Linked DNA regions of Homo sapiens: all the other regions are linked to region 3. The links are contacts of gene promoters, found by promoter capture Hi-C in blood cells and fetal thymus (Javierre and others, 2016). All regions are on one chromosome and are shown on one strand. The core of a region is centred on a gene start or on the middle of the fragment in contact, and the rest is flanking DNA. Distances in the headings are between cores, read along the strand shown.

What was found. The method cuts DNA at HindIII sites, captures the fragments that hold promoters and counts their contacts. A CHiCAGO score of 5 or more calls a contact.
Region 1: a fragment that was not itself captured here is called in contact with the fragment with the promoter of XKR6 in region 3 in 3 of 17 cell types (naive CD4 T cells, naive CD8 T cells and total CD8 T cells); the score reaches 5.6 in naive CD4 T cells.
Region 2: a contact is called between the fragment with the promoter of CTSB here and the fragment with the promoter of XKR6 in region 3, in 2 of 17 cell types (total B cells and fetal thymus). The highest score is 6.3, in total B cells.

What each region holds. Positions count from the first base shown.
Region 1 is chr8:11,772,825-11,775,861 of GRCh38, reverse strand. The region is part of intron 2 of NEIL2 (nei like DNA glycosylase 2); the gene reads right to left. Among named protein-coding and RNA genes, the nearest start is that of NEIL2, 4.6 kb to the right of the region's middle. The HindIII fragment of the contact is 7,750 bases long and covers 1-3,037 here.
Region 2 is chr8:11,866,837-11,869,624 of GRCh38, reverse strand. It overlaps CTSB (cathepsin B), which reads left to right and starts at 1,538. Exons shown (of 10, transcript NM_001908.5): 1 at 1,538-1,624. RefSeq lists silencers at 1,385-1,504, 1,645-1,974 and an enhancer at 2,065-2,274. The HindIII fragment of the contact is 8,989 bases long and covers 1-2,788 here.
Region 3 is chr8:11,200,404-11,203,217 of GRCh38, reverse strand. It overlaps XKR6 (XK related 6), which reads left to right and starts at 1,385. Exons shown (of 3, transcript NM_173683.4): 1 at 1,385-2,642. The coding sequence starts at 1,879. RefSeq lists silencers at 1,622-1,791, 1,872-2,231, 2,432-2,814. The HindIII fragment of the contact is 2,424 bases long and covers 1,018-2,814 here.

The DNA.
Region 1 (3,037 bases), core at 443-2,942, 570 kb before region 3:
ATGGACAATAAGGTACAGGCTGAAGTGGTCTCAGATGGAGATGAGGAACTTGCTGGGAACTAGAGTAAAGGTGATTCTTGCTGTGCTAAGAGACTGGTGGCATTTTGCCCCTGCCCTAGAGATCTATGGAAATTTGAACTTGAGAGACATGATTATGGCATCTGGTGAAAGAAATTTCTAAGTGGCAAAGCATTCAAGAGGAAGCAGAGCACAGAAGTTTGAAAAATTTGCAGCCTGATGATGCAGTAGAAAAGAAAAACCCATTTTCTGGGGAGAAATTCAAGCTGGCTGCAGAAATTTGCATAAGTAACTAGGAGTCAAATGCTAACCACCAAGCCAATAAGGAAAATGTCTCCAGAGCATGTCAGAGACCTTCACAGCAGCCCCTCCCATCACAGGTCCAGACACCTAGAAGGAAAAAATGGTTTCCTGGGCCAGATCCAGGGCCCCCTCTGCTGTGTGCAGCCTAGGGACTTGGTGCCCTGTGTCCTAGCCCCTCCAGCCATGGCTAAAAAGCGCCAATGTACAACCCAGGCTGCTGCTTCAGAGGGTACAAGCCCCAAGCCTTGGCGGTTCACATGTGGTGTTGAGCCTGCAGGTGCACAGAAGTTAAGAATGGAGGTTTGGAAACCTCCACCTAGATTTCTGAGGATGTATAGAAACAACGGGATGTCCAGGCAGAGGTGTGCTGCAGGGGCAGAGCCCTCATTGAGAACCTCTGCTAGGGCAGTGCAGAAGGAAAAGACGGGGTTAGAGCCCCAAGGCAGAGTTCCCACTGGGGCACTGCCTAGTAGAGCTGTGAGAAGAGGGCCACTGTCCTCCAGACCCCAGAATGGTAGATCTACTGACAGCTTGCACCCTGCCCTGGAAAACACACAGACACTCAATGCCAGCCTGTGAAAGCAGCCAGGATGACGGACTGTACCCTACCAAAGCCACAGAGGCAGAGCTGCCCAAGGCCGTGGGAGTCTACCTCTTGCATCAGCGTGCCCTGGATGAGAGACATGGAGTCAAAGATCATTTTGGAGCTTTAAGATTTGACTGCCTCACTGGATTTCAGACTTGCATGGGGCCTGTAGCCCCTTCGTTTTGGCCAATTTCTCCCATTTGAAACAGGTGTATTTACCCAATGCCTGTACCCCCATTGTATCTAGGAAGTAACTAACTTGCTTTTGATTTTACAGGCTCATAGGTGGAAGCAACCTGCCTTGTCTCAGATGAGACTTTGGACTGTGGCCTATTAAATTAATGCTGAAATGAATTAAGACTTTTGGGGACTGTTGGGAAGGCATGATTGGTTTTGAAATGTGAGGACTTGTGCTTTGGAAGGGCCTGGGGGTGGAATAATATAACTCCCATGATTCCCATGTGTTATGGGACGGACCTGGTGGGAGGTACCCAGTGGGAGGTAATTGAATCATGGGGGCTGTTCTCGTGATAGTAAATAAGTCTCAAGAGATCTGATGGGTTTTTTGTTGTTGTTGTTTTTCAGATGGAGTCTCACTCTGTTGCTGAGGCTGGAGCGCAGGTGCGATCTCAGCTCACTGCAACCTCTGTCTCCTGGGTTCAAGCAATTCTCCTGCCTCAGCCTCCCAAGTAGCTGGGATTACAGGCGCCCACCACCATGCCCAGCTAATTTGTGCATCTTTAGTAGAGATGGGGTTTAACATGTTGGCCAGGCTGGTCTCAAACTCCTGACCTCAGGCGACCTGCCCACCTCTGCCTCCCAAAGTGCTGGGATTACAGGCATGAGCCACTGCACCTGGCCTGACGGTTTTATAAATGGTAATTCCCCTGCACAAGCTCTCTTGCCTTCCACCATGTAGGATGTGCCTTTGTTTCCCCTTCGCCTACTGCCATAATTGCGAGGCCTCCCCAGCCATGCAGAACTGTGAGTCCATTAAACCTCTTTCCTTCATAAATTACCCAGTCTTGGAAGGGGAGAGTAGAAGGAGCTTGGTTTCCAATGTTGCTCCTATACCACCCTGGACTGTTCCATTACTGGAGGAGGAGAAAACCATGAGCTAGAGTAGCCATTTTTCTGAGTCTGTTATGAGTAATCCAACACAACTCCTATATAGAAAATGGAGAGCTGACAAGAAAAGGATGTGCCAGACAAACAGATGGCACAGAGTGCAGCCAAGCTCCCTCCTGCCTCATCAACTCACCCTGCTCACTCCACCTCCATCGGCCCGCCTGTAACTGCTTCTCAAGCCTGAAATGCCCTTTCCTCCCTCTTCAGTCCACTGAAATCCTCCAGCCTTCAAGGCCCAACTCAAGTCCTACCTCCTGCACATCTTCTCCAGGCCACCGGGACCTCTTCCTGTCAGGGTCATTACCTGGGCCTTTATGATGTGCTCTGCCCTCCCCATTTAGCATAGCTTAATAGTGTGGCCTGTGTCGATACAAGCCGTATGTTCTCAATTCAGTTCTAAGTTCCTAGGGTCAGGGACCCGCCGACAGGGAGAAGCAGGGAAGGGCGCTCACTTCAAAGCACTGCCAGGCAGCCCCGAAGGTTCCCTGCAACCTTAGGTTCCCTGCAACATGGTTTTCTGCTTGGTTTACTGGGAAAGCAGCTCCCAGTCCCGTCTACGGGTTCCTTCACCGCACATCCATCTGCCCACCCATCCACTTGGGAAATATTCTCTTACAGCCAGCTCTGTGGCAGACACCCTGGTAAGTGCTGGGGATCCAGAGACAAGAGACAATTCTGCCCCTGCAAACCTCGAAGGACAGTGTGTACAAAGAGGCCACAGTCCTGGAGGCCATGGGACCCCGTGCTCTCACCTGTTCCTTGCCAGCCACCTGAGCTTGGGCTAAGTACTCCCTTCTCCGAGCCTCAGTCTCCAAAGGAATCAACTATGGGTACAGGGCTACAGGATCTCTTCCAGTTCTAACTAACAACGGTTTTAAAACCTCTGTGTGTGTGTGTTGCGGGGGTGGGGGGTGAGGGCAAGATGGAAGAAAGGGAACTAGTACTTATGGAGTACCCGTTATGTGCCAGGCATAAACTCTACTTAAAACAACAACTTTAAGA
Region 2 (2,788 bases), core at 289-2,788, 670 kb before region 3:
TCCCATGCAGTCCTACTGCCTTTTTTTTTTTTTTTTTTTTTTTTTTTGAGGCGGAGTCTCGCTTTTCGCCCAGGCTGGAGTGCAGTGGCACGATCTCAGCTCACGGGTTCACGCCATTCTCCTGCCTCCGCCTCCCGAGTAGCTGGGACTACAGGCGCCCGCCACCACGCCCGGCTAATTTTTTGTATTTTTACTAGAGACGGGGTTTCACCGTGTTAGCCAGGATAATCTTGATCTCCTGACCTCGTGATCCGCCCGCCTCGGCCTCCCAAAGTGCTGGGATTACAGGCGTGAGCCACTGCACCCGGCTACTGCCTTCTTACTGTCGCCACAGCCTGGATAAAATACGATTCTTCTGAGCCTTTTTTTTTTTTTTAATACAGAGTTTCACTCTTGTTGCCTAGGCTGGAGTGCAATAGTGCGATCTCTGGTCACCGCAACCTCCGCCTCCCGGGTTCAAGCGATTCTCCTGCTTCAGTCTCCCGAGTAGCTGGGATTACTGACACGCGCCACCACGCCCGGCTAGTTTTGTATTTTTAGTAGAGACGGGGTTTCTCCATGTTGGTCAGGATGGTCTCGAACTCCCGACCTCAGGTGACTCACCGGCCTCGGCCTCCCAAAATGCTGGGATTACAGGCGTGAGCCACCGAACCCAGCCCCTCTGAGCCTCTTGAATACAACTGGGGTCATGCCTGCTTTGCAGGTTTGTCTTAAGGATTAAAGCTGTTTGGGGAGTGTCTGGAGGAGGGTGAGTCTTGAGCCAACCCCTGCATCTCCCTTCCAGGGCCTCCCGGTAATAAACCCCAAGTAAATGTGCACTTTGTCCGTCCTCTCGGAGCAGGTCTCCGGGTACTCCTGTGCCAAACCGATTTCCGCCCCCAAGGTCCTTCTCCTCTTAGAAATCCTGACGCAGCTCCTAGGTTCCTTCGCAGTGACAGCCACTCTTTTCTATTTGTACGTAGCTGTAGTGTTTTGTGGGTACGTTCTCTGAACAACAAAGTGGCCCTTCTAAAGGCTGTTCTGTGGGGTCCACAGCCTCGCCACCCCCAGCCTCTGCAGCGGCTTCTGAATGAATGAAATAAGCGACGGCGCCCTCTCCACCACCCCACCCCCGCCAACTCGGCAGGCAGGGATCCCAGGCGCGGGTTCTGGCGGAGGCGGTCCCGCGAGGCGGGGGGACTTTTCTAGGCGGGGTGGGGGCCTTGGGACCACCTTTAGGGGCTTTTTCCCCATCCCCTGGCCCCAATTCGCAGCGTTTCGCCACCCAGGGCCCGCAGGGCTCCAAGCCCTTCTTCCCCAGCCCGCGCGCTCAGGCCCCCGCCCGCCCCCGGCGGTGGCCCCGGACCCCGAGCGGAAGGGGGCGGGGGGTGTGCGGGGCCGGGAAGCGGGGAGCGCGGGCGGCGGAAGGTGGCGGGAGGGGGTGGGGGCTGGGAAGCACCGTGCGCGGGCGGCGGGAGGGCCCGGGCGGGGCTGCGCGGTGGTCACGTGGGGCGGGGCCGGGAGGGTACTTAGGGCCGGGGCTGGCCCAGGCTACGGCGGCTGCAGGGCTCCGGCAACCGCTCCGGCAACGCCAACCGCTCCGCTGCGCGCAGGCTGGGCTGCAGGCTCTCGGCTGCAGCGCTGGGTGAGTGCTGGGGACCCGGGGCCACCGCAGCGTAAGTGACCTTGGCGGGGACGGTGCTACCCGGCCGCCGAGACGGGTTCCTCTGCGCCCTCAGTCGGGCCCAGGCGCGGCCCCGCGGCGTCCCTGGGGGCCGGCGGGGAGCCGGGACCCTCGGGACTGTCCCTGACGGGCGGGCTGGGGTGGGAGTCCGCGCGCTCCGAAGCGTCGGCGAGAAAAGCAGAAAACAGCTCCGCCCGCCAGCCCTCTGCCCTCCGCTCCCCTCCCCGGGCTGTGCGCCGGACCCCGGCCCTCGGAGCGGGGACGCGGCCAGGACCGCCGAGGGAGGCGCCTGCGAGGAAGAGCTCGGCCGGGTCCGGAGACTGCTGCCTGGGACCGCGCTCCCAGCGCCTGGGCCTCGGTGTCTCCGGGCCAAACTGCCGACATAATCGCATCTGCCGGCATCTATTTTCGGTTTATTTCCCCCTCATTGCGAAGGATTTGCCTGGCCAACTTTCTGCGCAAGATCCCACGCAATTCCTGGGACCCCAGAAGACAGGTCCTGTTGAAGAACAGGAATCTGGCACTGGGTGGGCTGGGGAGGAAGCCGCACGGTGTTAAATCCATAAACAGGAAGAGAAACCAGACAGCGAAACCAAGAGGCGAATGGGCGATTGGATGCCGGTGGGGAGAAGGCCGGGGGCGCACCCTGCTCCTGGACTCCAGTAAAGGGAGGCCGGGCAGAGTCCCTGGGGCGCCACCTCCCCCTCGGTTAGTAGCCCTGGAGGCCGGGGGGAGTTGGCCTCTGGGGAGCAGTGGGTGCTGGGTGTGGGGCGTTGCAGGCAGGCTGGGGTGGGCGACCCAGGTGGAAGTGAATTGCACTTGGCTTCCTGGTGGGCCTCTGTCACCCCCTTCCCAGGCGCTGAGAAAGCCAGCAGGCTGGCAAAGAAAAGGACCCTAGCGCAGGCCCCACACTCCTCCTCCTAACGGACGAGAGACCCCCCAAACCCACTGGAGAAGTGACGCTGTGGGGTTCAAATGCAGACCTGGCACCTTTTTGTAGCCTGGAAAAACATTCCCACTGCCTGCTGCCGGAGGAGAGGATAGCTGAGATGCACTCTCTTTGAATCCAAACGTTCAGGAACGTAAGGCGAAGAGGCCTAAGAGGGCGTTGGCTGGCTCTGTCTC
Region 3 (2,814 bases), core at 136-2,635:
GGCTTACATATGAGTATGAGTTTTACATACCATAGGGAGTATGAGGCTTAAATCATAGCATGAAATACATGGATACAGTTATATGGCTGGTTTCTAAAAGTTGATTTTGGAATCACTCCCCTCTTCCCAATGTATGGGAGTAAAAATTCACTATTAGTAATTTTTCTAAAGTCTTCAGAGATTTCACACTGGCATATATACTCATGAAAAGCTGTGTCCTAAAATGTAGTATCCCCATCTACCCTGCCACTCCCAAAACTCATAGGTGCCATAGTATTCAATAGTATCAAAGTAACTATTGAAGTTGTCAAACGCACCTTTCTGCCATAGAACCTCCAGCCATATAAATATTACCTAATTTGTACTCTTAACATTCTAAAGACAGTTATTGGCATTATTAGAAGACTTTAGTGAATGGAGAAGTAGACAGAATCACAAAAATGAGTTCAAAAATCTAGGGAAGTCAATGAGAAAATTCAGGGATTTTTTTCCCCCTCATTCTTTTTTTTAACTGTAAAATGTTCATTTCATCTGATCAGGAACAACTGTAACCATGTAGCTTGCCCTATTTTGGCTATCTGGCTTCAAAAATACTTTCACTGGAAGATCATTGTAATTCAAATCCATTCAGTGCTGTTTCACTTTTGTAATTTGTTAGCTAAGTTTAAGTAGTGTATCCTGCACCTACTTTAATGATATAGCACATTGATAACATTTTTTTCCTTATTTAAAGCAATGTTTACCCACAGCGCCTTAGCACCAAAAAAATTCTAAAAGGCACTCCTTACACATTTAAATAACCTGAACAAATAATTGATACAGGTTAAGCCCTGGCTAGTTCTGCATTTTCCAAATTAAGATCACAGAATTTAAAAATTGCATATTAAAAAAAAAGTTGGTAGAATATATTTCCATAGGGCAGAAAATATATTCAAGGTCACAATATGCCCATTCATTCCTTGCTCCAACATGTAAGACCCAACCAGGCTGATTTCCAATTGAATTTTGCCTGAAGCTTTTTTAAGGTAATGATGGAAACTTTATTACAAAAGGTGGTTAAGTTGTCAGTGACAGGAAAATCAGGAGGTCAACAGAGGTAAGAGGAGAGGTGTCTAAATGGAAGTGAGAATCAGTAACTTGATTGTGAAAATCTGACTTATGTAATTTTTAAAGACCCTCAAAATAAGAGAAGAATAAGAGAAATTTAAAAGAAAATAGAAACAGCCAAAGAGGTGAGACATAGACATTTTGATTGGGGGGGGGTGTTGTCTAACTACACAATGAGGTCATCCCATCTCCCGGAAGTGACACGTAATCACCTGCTTTGCACTAGCTCCGCCCCTTCCCTCAGAGGTCCCGCCCCTCCACCAGCAGCCGGGAGGGTGTTAGGGGGCGTTTCTCCAGGAGGAAAGCTGTGAGCTGCGACGCTGAGGAAGGGGACCCCAAAACGTCTGGCACTGCCCCCTCCAGGGATCACTTTGGACCGCCTCACTCGGGCCAGCCGGATTCTGAAACGCCGAGGGGTCAACCTGATGGGTTTCGGGGTCAACGGAAGAGGGGAAGGGGAGCCCTGGCGGGGAGAACCCCCCGGTCCCCCGCCCAGCAGCTGAGGCACAGGAGGGCGGCCATCTTGGCCGGGAGGGTAGGGCTGGGGAGCTGCGGGCGCCGTGCGATTGGGGGGCTCGCCCGGAAGTGACGCCAACTACCCGGAAGCGGAGGGGGTTCCCTGGCCCACTCCCCCCTCGTTCGTTTGCTCCCCCGCTTCCTCCCCGCCCCCCTTCCTCTCCATTCGTTTCCCCCCCTCCCCGTTCCCTGCCTTCTTCCCCCCCCCCCCGCCGTCCCTCCCCCCCAACCTCCGGAGCTGGGAAGAGAGTCAAGATGGCGGCGAAATCCGATGGCGGTGGCGTGGGGGTGGGCTTCGCTCAGCTGCACAACCTGGACGAGGCGGTGGGCAGCGGCGGCGAGGAGGACGGGGAGCCCGGGGGAGGCGGCTGCGGCGGCGGCGGCGACGGCAGCGAGCCCGGCGAGAGCAGCTCGATGCACATCTGCCACTGCTGCAACACCTCCTCGTGCTACTGGGGCTGCCGCTCCGCCTGCCTGCGCTCCCTCCTGGGCAGGAAGCCGCGCCGCAGCGCCGCCGCCGACGGGGGGGACCAGCCGCTGCAGCCTCCCGCGGCCCCCGGCGCCGGCCGCCAACCCCCGACGCCCTCGGCCGCGCGGCCGGAGCCGCCGCCGCCGCAGGTGGAGCGGCCGTGGCTCGACTGCCTGTGGATCGTGCTGGCGCTGCTGGTGTTCTTCGGGGACGTGGGCACCGACCTGTGGCTGGCCCTCGACTACTACCGCAAGGGGGACTACGTCTACTTCGGGCTGACCCTCTTCTTCGTGCTGGTGCCGTCGCTGCTGGTGCAGAGCCTGAGCTTCCGCTGGTTCGTGCAGGACTACACGGGCGGCGGGCTGGGCGCCGTGGAGGGGCTCACCAGCCGGGGCCCCCCCATGATGGGGGCCGGCTACGTCCACGGCGCGGCCCGCGGTGGCCCAGGCGTGAGGGTCTCCCCCACGCCGGGGGCGCAGCGCCTGTGTCGCCTCTCCGTGTGGATCTGGCAGTCGGTCATCCACCTGCTGCAGATGGGGCAGGTGTGGAGGTAAGAGCACTGCGGGGTGGGGGCGGGCCGGCCCTGAGGAGCCCCCCTCCGCCCTCCCGGTGCTTCGCGGGGCGGCCCCTCGAAAGGGCCCAGCGCGGGGGGCTCGAAGGAGGGACCGGCCGCGCGCCGCCCCTGGCGTCTCCAAAAGACCGGCGTTTGATCTGGATCCCTG